Linked DNA regions of Homo sapiens: region 1 is linked to region 2. Evidence: promoter capture Hi-C in 16 types of primary human blood cells and fetal thymus (Javierre and others, 2016). All regions are on one chromosome and are shown on one strand. Each heading gives the region's core, a stretch centred on a gene start or on the middle of the fragment in contact. The rest is flanking DNA. Distances are from core to core; before and after follow the strand shown.

The links. The method cuts DNA at HindIII sites, captures the fragments that hold promoters and counts their contacts. A CHiCAGO score of 5 or more calls a contact.
Region 1: a fragment that was not itself captured here is called in contact with the fragment with the promoter of TESMIN in region 2 in 1 of 17 cell types (endothelial precursors); the score reaches 5.8 in endothelial precursors.

The regions. Positions count from the first base shown.
Region 1 is chr11:68,646,168-68,650,407 of GRCh38, forward strand. No RefSeq gene overlaps it. Among named protein-coding and RNA genes, the nearest start is that of GAL, 36 kb to the right of the region's middle. The HindIII fragment of the contact is 1,260 bases long and covers 2,282-3,541 here.
Region 2 is chr11:68,749,169-68,753,060 of GRCh38, forward strand. It overlaps TESMIN (testis expressed metallothionein like protein), which reads right to left and starts at 2,352. Exons shown (of 10, transcript NM_004923.3): 1 at 2,252-2,352; 2 at 1,022-1,531. The coding sequence starts at 1,492. RefSeq lists an enhancer at 1,479-2,464 and silencers at 2,165-2,454, 2,465-2,584. The HindIII fragment of the contact is 16,735 bases long and covers 1-3,892 here.

The DNA.
Region 1 (4,240 bases), core at 1,662-4,161, 100 kb before region 2:
GTCTTTCTTTGGCTTTCATTTTTGTAGAACAGTTTCACTGGAAATAATCATGATGACAGCTTTCATTTTCTTCCGGCACTTTGCATATGTTGTTTCATTTTCCTCCAGGCACATATTGTTGTTCCCCTGTATATAATGTATTGTTTTTATTCTCTTGCAGTTTTCAAGCTTCTCTGTTTGTCGTTGGGTTTTAGTAGCTTGTCTACGATGTGTCGAGGTTTTTGTCTGTTTGCTTTATCTGACTTGAGGTTCACTGAGCTTCCCGAATCTTCAAGTTAATGTTTTTAATCAAATCTGGGAAATTTTAAGCCATTATTTCATCAAATATATGTATTTTTCCTTTCTTTTCTTCTCTCCTCTCCTTCTGGGATTCCAATTACATGCATGTTGGACTGCTTGATACAGTCTTGTGGGTCTCTCAGGATATATTTCTTTTTCTTGGTAAAAAATGAAGTCTTTTTTCTCTATGTTCTTTGCATTAAATACATTTTATTGACCTATCTTCAAGGTCATGGATTTTTTCTCCTACTGTCTCCAATAAGCTATTGAGCCTATCCAGTGAAATTTTTATTTCTGTTGTTTTAATTTTCAGCTTGAAGAATTTCCATTTGATTCTTTTTTGTAGCTTCCATTTCTTTGTTGAGGTTCCCCTCTGTTTATTCATTAAGACTATATTTTACTTTAATTATCTGATCATATTTAAAATAGCAGCTTTGAAGTCTTTGTCTATGAAATCTAACCTTTGGGTCCATTCAGAATCCACTTCTATTCACTGTCTTTTTCCTAAATATGGATCATACATTCTTGTTTCTTTGTATGTCTAGTTATTTTTTGTTGGTAACTGGACATTGTAGGTAGTATTTTGTAGCAACTTTGGATTCTGTTATGTTCTTCTGAAGATTGTTGGGTTTTGTTCCAGTAGGCAGTTAACTTGCTTGATCTGAAACTGTAGAGTCTGCCTCCTCCACAGTGTGTAGTGGCTGATGTCTCTGCTCAGCTTTTCAACTTCCAGCTGTAGTCTTTGTAGCCAACCCTTTGCACCCGTATGCTCAATATTTAGCCAAGGATTTGAGCAGAGTTTATGTTCAGATTTGGCAGCTCACCCTCTCTGTAGTTCCCTTGCTTTGGGGGTTCACCCTTAATTTTCCAGCTGCTCAGCCAGCCCTACACTTTGTCTTCTGACACCTCAAACCAATAAGGATTCAACTTTCTGCCATGCATGCTGTGCATGATTTGGGGAATACATGCACTCAAAGGAGCAGAAAACTCACGAATATCACCTAGTCCTCTTATATCTTTCAGGGTAGACTCCTCTCTCATATCTCCCTCATTTTTCACCAAGCTTCCTCAAGTCTCTGATACGTGTTTGTAGTTTGATGGCCATCCAAGGATTGGGGCAGAGTTTAGACTCAGATTTGGGTCTCACCCCTTCTACAGCTCTCTTGTTTCAGGATTTCTTCCCTACATTTCCAGCTCCTCTGCCAGCCTTGTCCTCTGTATTCTCCCACCTTGAGCTTGGAAGACTGTGGCGCCATGGCCATGACTGTGGGGTTAGGAGCGTGCTGAGGCAAAGGGCTGGCCTTTAATTGCCTGCATCAGGTCATCATTGGCTGTGATTTCCGTCAGCTGAGGGCACTTCTGTATTGAGGGGAAAGCAGTGAGAGGTTAACAGCCAATGTTCACAGCAGCTGGGGGCTAGGGTGTACTAGGCTGGTCTAGGAGATTTGGGCAGGTACCAGTGGTAGTGAGAAAGAGTCCGTTCCAACTCTGCTTTGGAGATAAGTTGGGGCCAATTGCCCTGAAATTAGATTCCTCCAAAGAATCTCTGCTATGTGCCCCACTCGTGACCCTCCTTTCTGCTTGCCTCCTGACATATTCTTTGTTTTTTTTTTTCTGGAGACAAAGTCTTGCTTTGTCACCTAGGTTGGAGTGCCGTGGCCCCATCTTGGCTCACTTCAGCCCCTGCCTCCTGAATTCAAGCAATTCTCATGCCTCAGCCTTCCAAGTAGCTGGGATTACAGGCACACACCACCATGCCCGGCTAATTTTTGTATTTTTAGTAGAGATGGGGTTTCACCATGTTGGCCAGGCTGGTCCCTAACTCCTGACCTCAAGTGATCCATGCACCTTGGCCTCCCAAATTGCTGAGATTATAGGTATGAGCCAACACGCCCGGCCCTCCTGACATGTTCTTTTTAAACCAAGAGGGAAACTGAAGTTTTCTCTCTGAGAACCCACACCTCTGCTTCTGGGTCCCTGGGGCTGAGGGATCACTATGAAAAGCTTTATTTCAGGGGATCTGACTTCTCAGCCCCATCAGTCCCATGAACTTTTGCCAACGTCCTTTCTCAGGAATGAAATTAAGCACCCAGGTTTTGTTTCACATAATTCAGCCAGACCCTGCCCCTGCCCCCAAGGGCTTCCTCTGCTCCTGGATGGAGAGAAGATACACAGAGAAAGCACCCAGATGAGTGGCTTCCTTGATGGGGATTTAAAATATTTTATTTTCATAGAATTTCTAGTGCCATAAAAAGGTATATATTTGATTGTTTTGCTTTAATTAATTTATTTATTTATTTTTGAGACAGTCTCACACTGTCGCCCAGGCTGGAGTACAGTGGTGCGATCTCGGCTCACTACAACCTCTGCCTCCCAGGTTCAAGTGATTCTCCTGCCTCAGCCTCCTGAGTAGCTGGGTTACAGGTGCACACCACCACGCCTGGCTAATTTTGTGTTTTCAGTAGAGATGGGGTTTCACCGTGTTGGCCCGGCTGGTCTTGAACTCCTGACCTCAAGTGATCCACCCCCCTCGGCCTCCCAAAGTGCTGGGATTACAGGTGTGACCCACCGTGCTCAGCTTTTGCTTCCTTTTAAAAAGCATTTTGGATTTTAGGGTCTTTCTTTTTCTATCGTGGTATTTCTCCAGTGGAGCCCCCCCTCTGAGTTCTGACCCCAGTTCTTCCATGACATCAGCATTTATCCCTGTTGATAAGCTGCCACATCCTTTAAAAATCAGCCCACCTAAAATGTTCTACCCCAGCAACTCTGTTCTCACCTTTGAAAAGAGCACCCGACTACTGAATGCCAGGAAAAAGCGCATCCTTTTGAGAGAAATGCATATAGCCAAGGATGGAAATCCTGAAAGCAGATGTAAAATCCCCTCCACGTAGAAAATCATAGGCACCAGCGATGCTATTAGATATGTATGACTAATTGCGGTTAATACTCGCTGCTGTCAATTAGCCTCATTAGCACAAGCAATTTGAGCACACGACATTACTTTAATTACCACAAGCAGTTTGTTCATTTGTGGAGAATGTGCATTTCCAAAAAGGTTGCGCTATTTGGAAATTAATCCTAATCTCTTGCATTGTTAAAAATTCAGGCAGATAGGGGAGAAAAAAACTGTAAGCAAAAAAAACTGTAAGCATCCTTGCATTTACAGATACAAAAATAAAAGTGACGAACGTTACACAGTCATTTTTACTATTATTTTTCTACTATTTTATTTTCTCTGCTAAAGCGGACTAGGGTCATTGTAAGCTTTCTTTTCTGAAATCTATGCGTGGGAGGTAAAATGACTGGCATTAGAGCTCAGCCGAGACATTAAGCCCATTAAGGGAGGCAATGCAGAAAAGCCTTCAAATCTGAGCTTTTATTCAACTCACCCCGGGGCCGGGAAAGGGCCGGCGAGGACAGCCCCACCCCACCATACCTTCAACCTTCTTGCTGTGTCCCAGCGAGGACAGTTTCACTCCCACCGGACCCTCCAAGCCTCTTGCCCACGGCTGTGTCCTGGCCGCTGCTTCCTGCCTGGGCCCTGGAGTGCTCCGAGGACCCCTCCCCAAATCCCAGCCACCGCCGCCCTGTTTGGCGTCTCTGATGGAGAGCTGAGCTTCCTGTGTCCTCGGAGCCTGCAGGGATCAGCACCCGCCACGGTAGCTCCCCTTTCCCGCCTGCTCTGCTGGATGCTGGGTTTCAGTCCAGGTCCTTCGGGCGCCCTGGAACCCTCTTCCGCTCCCCGACCTGGGCCTGTCATGGGCCACTTTAGGGCCCTGGATGGCGGCCCTGCTCCCTGGCGCCGCATCAGCCATCCGTGGCAGACTCCCGCCATCCGGATTCTCCCTTTCCTGCCGGCACCTCTCTTCTTGCGAGTGGCCCAGAAGCAGGGGTGGTCGTTCCGCTGGCTCCTGCTGCACACCAGGCCCTGGGGACATCGTGGCCCTGGGGACATCATGGT
Region 2 (3,892 bases), core at 1,102-3,601:
CCTCTGTCCTGGGAAACGGCTGGGGGAACTGGTGAGCTCTATGGCTCCTCTGAGGACAAACAGAGGTCAGTGGAGGCCCCAGCCTCTGCCCATCCTTTTCCTGTACACTAAGGACTGGCAATTACCATAACAGAAAACCGGAAGAGCAGAAATCCAAGCTCCTGCTGCTCTGGCTTATGATACAGGGTCAGGCTCCAGCCATCTCAATACTGACTCAAGCATTGTGTCCCACAAACGCTTCATCTACAACTTACTAAAATGACCTCATGGATGAGTGGTCTCGTTTTCTGAGCTGGGTCCTTTTTGAGGGGTCGAGAACACATTTTCCTGGGACCCTTTGTTTCCTTTGAAAACTCATTAGTTTTGGCAAGAACAAAGCGGAAAATTATCAGCGGTCATCTACAGCTAGAGAGGGCAGTCGGCTGAGAGCTGGCAAGCATTTCTTTAGGCTCTGATTTACATTGCATATGCTTGAAGAGCTATTACTCATTAGCAAAGGGAAGATCTCACATCTTGACTTCAAGGCCCGGAAAATCCAAGTATTAACTCTGAGTCCTTGCTGTGGATTCCAAGCCTGGTAAAGTTAAAGGAAAAAAAAAATGCAAGATGCAAACACGCCAACCCTCCACCACATTGCGTTTGTTTTCACAGACAATAGTTACCAGCAGACAGCGGGCCTCTCTCCTTAAGCCAAGGATAGCAACAGGGCCCAAGGGAACCTACGTCCTAGCTTTCCCCCTTTTTTTGTTGTCCGCCGTCTGCATGGTTAGGTCAGCTTTGGACGACTGGTGCAGGGCAGAATTCCCTCCAGGGGAAAGGGCTTGGCTGGGCCGATGCATGTTGGATTAGGAAGACGACAAAGAGTATACGCTCTACCGAGAATCAGTGACTCCGGTGGGCTGTGTGTGGTGTCACCAGGGAAAATGCTTGTAGAGGGAAATCCTGGGGTACACTAGCAGCCTCAGATGGGTTGGGGAAGGGATGGAGGGGGAGCTGTGCCCATTCCCCAGGCGGTTCTTACTGGGATCATGCGGACGCCCGGGTGGGAGGCTCCTTCCAGGACCCAGGCGCCCAGGGGCAACACCGCCGGGCTGCGGTGCGCGGGTAGCAGCGAGGACAGGAAGTGCACGTTGCAGGCGGGCGGCTGCGGGGCCTGCAGGAGCGCGACGTCCTCCAGCGCGCTGAGCTCTGGGATCCCGGGGTACTCCCCGAGGAGCTCCCCGCCGTCGCTGTCGCCCCCCGCGAGCTTCGCCTTGACCTGGCCCTTGCAGTCGGCGCCCAGCGCGGGGTTGAACGCGTGCAGGACGGGTTCCTTGGGGTCCGCCGGGCCCAGGTACGCTTCTTTGAAGACGTGGAACTCGTCCTCCTCGTACTTCACGGGGGCCTTCAGGCCGATGTTCTCCGAAGCGAACGGACCCTCGGGGCTTAAGAGCTCCGTCACCATCGCATCCTCGGGGCTGGGCAGCCCGCCCGGCAGAGGGCCCTCCTCCATGGCGCAGGGCGGCGGGGCGGGATGGCGGGGGCCGCGCACCTGCAACACGCGGCCAGGTGAGAGGCAGCCAGAGGAGAGGACGAGGGGAGGGGCGGCCAGGAAAGGGGACAGCCAAGGGAGGGGCAGCCAAGGGAGGGGCGGCCAGGGGAGGGGACCAGGTGAGGGGCGGCTAGGGGAGGGGGCGGCCTGGTGAGGGAGGGCCAGGTGAGGGGCCCGGGGAAGGGCGACCAGGTGAGGGGGTCAGGGGAGGGGCGACCAGATGAGGGGCGATTAGGTGAGGGGCGGCCAGGTGAGGGGCGGCCAGGTGAGGAGCGACCAGGGGAGGCGGTCAGGTGAGCGGCGACCAGGGGAGGGGCGGCCGGGGAGGGGGTCACGGGAGGGGCGACCAGGGGAGGGGCGGCCAGGGGAGGGGGCCAGGTGAGGGGCGGCCAGGTGAGGAGCGACCAGGGGAGGGAGTCAGGGGAGGGGCGACCAGGTAAGGGGCGGCCAGGAGAGGGGCCGGCCGGGGTGGGGGTCAGGTGAGGGGCGCCCAGGGGAGGGGGCCAGGTGAGGGGCGGCCGAGGAGGGGGTCAGGTGAGGAGCAGCCAGGGGAGGGGGGGCCAGGTGAGGTGCGACCAGGTGAGGGGCGGCCTCGCCCACGGCCCGCCGCCCTCCGCCCACCCGCAGGGGCCCGACCCGGCCCGGCAGCCCCCATCCCCGCCTGCAGAGCCGAGGCCCAGCCCGGGGACCGCCCCGTCATTCCTCCTCGGAGGGACGCACCTGGGGCCGCCGGGGCTGCCGCAGCGTGGAGCGAGCGGGATGGGGCGTGGGCCGGGCCTCAGGCGCAGGCGGCCGTTGGCGGTTGGAGAAGGGGGAAGGGTGAGGGACAGGAACCTGGGGGGAGGGGAAGAGGCGCCCGGGCAGTGGGCGGGGCCTGGGCGTGGGGCGGAGTCGAGGTCGGGGCGGGGAGGTAAAGGCGGGGCCAGGGAGGTGTGGTGGGCGTGGTCTGGGGCGGGAGGAGACAGAGTCGCGAGGGGCGGGGCCTGGACTGCCGCTGTTGCCAGAGCGGGTCAGGGGAGGCACTCCCAGGTTCAGCCGATCCAGGCTCAGGTGGGGAAACTGAGGTCCCCATCAACTCGGGCAGCGCTAAGTGGGACTGCCTAGCTTGGCTTCTGACCTTGGGCTTCAGTTATATTTTTCTGGCCAGGCGTGGTTGCTCACGCCTGTAGTCCCAGCACTTTGGGAGGCCGAGGCAGGCGGATTACTTGAGGTCAGGAGTTCAAAACCAGCCTGGGCAACATGGTGAAACCCCGTCTCTACTAAAAATACAAAAATTAGCTGGCCGTGGTGGCACGCGCCTGTAATCCCAGCTACTTGGAAGGCTGAGGCAGGAGAATCGCTTGAGCCCGGGAGGTGGAGGTTGCAGTGAGCCGAGATCCCGCCACTGCACTCCAGCCTGTGCCACAGAGCTAGACTCCGTCTCAAAAAAATAAATAAAATAAAATAAAACATTTTTCTACACTCGAGCTCTCAAGACAGATCCCGGCCTGGGACGCTGCGGGTGGACAGAGGGCAGGGGCTTGCACCGCACGTTCCCAGCCTTGCACCCACTCCCGGTCCTTGGTGACGCAGCTTACAGGTGCAACTGATGGAGTTGGTCCCGAAATAGAAGTAACAAATACGGCTGGGCGTGGTGGCTCACGTCTGTAATCCCAGCACTTTGGGAGGCCGAGGCGGGTGGATCACCTGAGGTCAGGAGTTCGAGACCAGCCTGGCCAACATATAGTGAAACTCCGTCTCTACTAAAAAATACAAAAACTAGCTGGGCGTAGTGGCGCACGCCTGTAGTCCCAGCTACATAGAAGGCTGAGGCTTGAACCTGGGAGATGGGGGTTGCAGTGAGCTGAGATTGTGTCACTGTACTCCAGCCTGACCAACAGAGAAAGGCTCCCTCTCAGAAAAAAAAAAAAAAACTCACAAATACAATGAAAGTCTCAAATTTTGGGTGGGGAATGAGCTATTTCATCTTTAAGGAGTCAATAGATATCACTGTTTAATCAAGAGGAGGTGAAAGTTTAATTCAAGTGATGGCGAAAACTGCAAAGGGTGTAGAGGGACTGGTGGGAGTGGGTGCTGGGGAGACAGCCTCAGGTACTGTCTACTCAGGTACTGTTTTGGTAAAAATAAAGAATGTAAAACATCAGCTTTCTAATCTCACTTTTAAAAATTAAATACTTTTCTAAATTTTTAAAGGGTAGTACCCAAGGCACAGCAACACCGTGTACTATTTAGTTGTACATTTAACATTCAAAAATCAAGAAAATTTTGCCTGGGGCTGGGCGTGGTGGCTCATGCCTGTAATCCCAGCACTCTGGGAGGCCAAGGTGGTCAGATCACTTAAAGTCAGGAGTTCAAGACCAG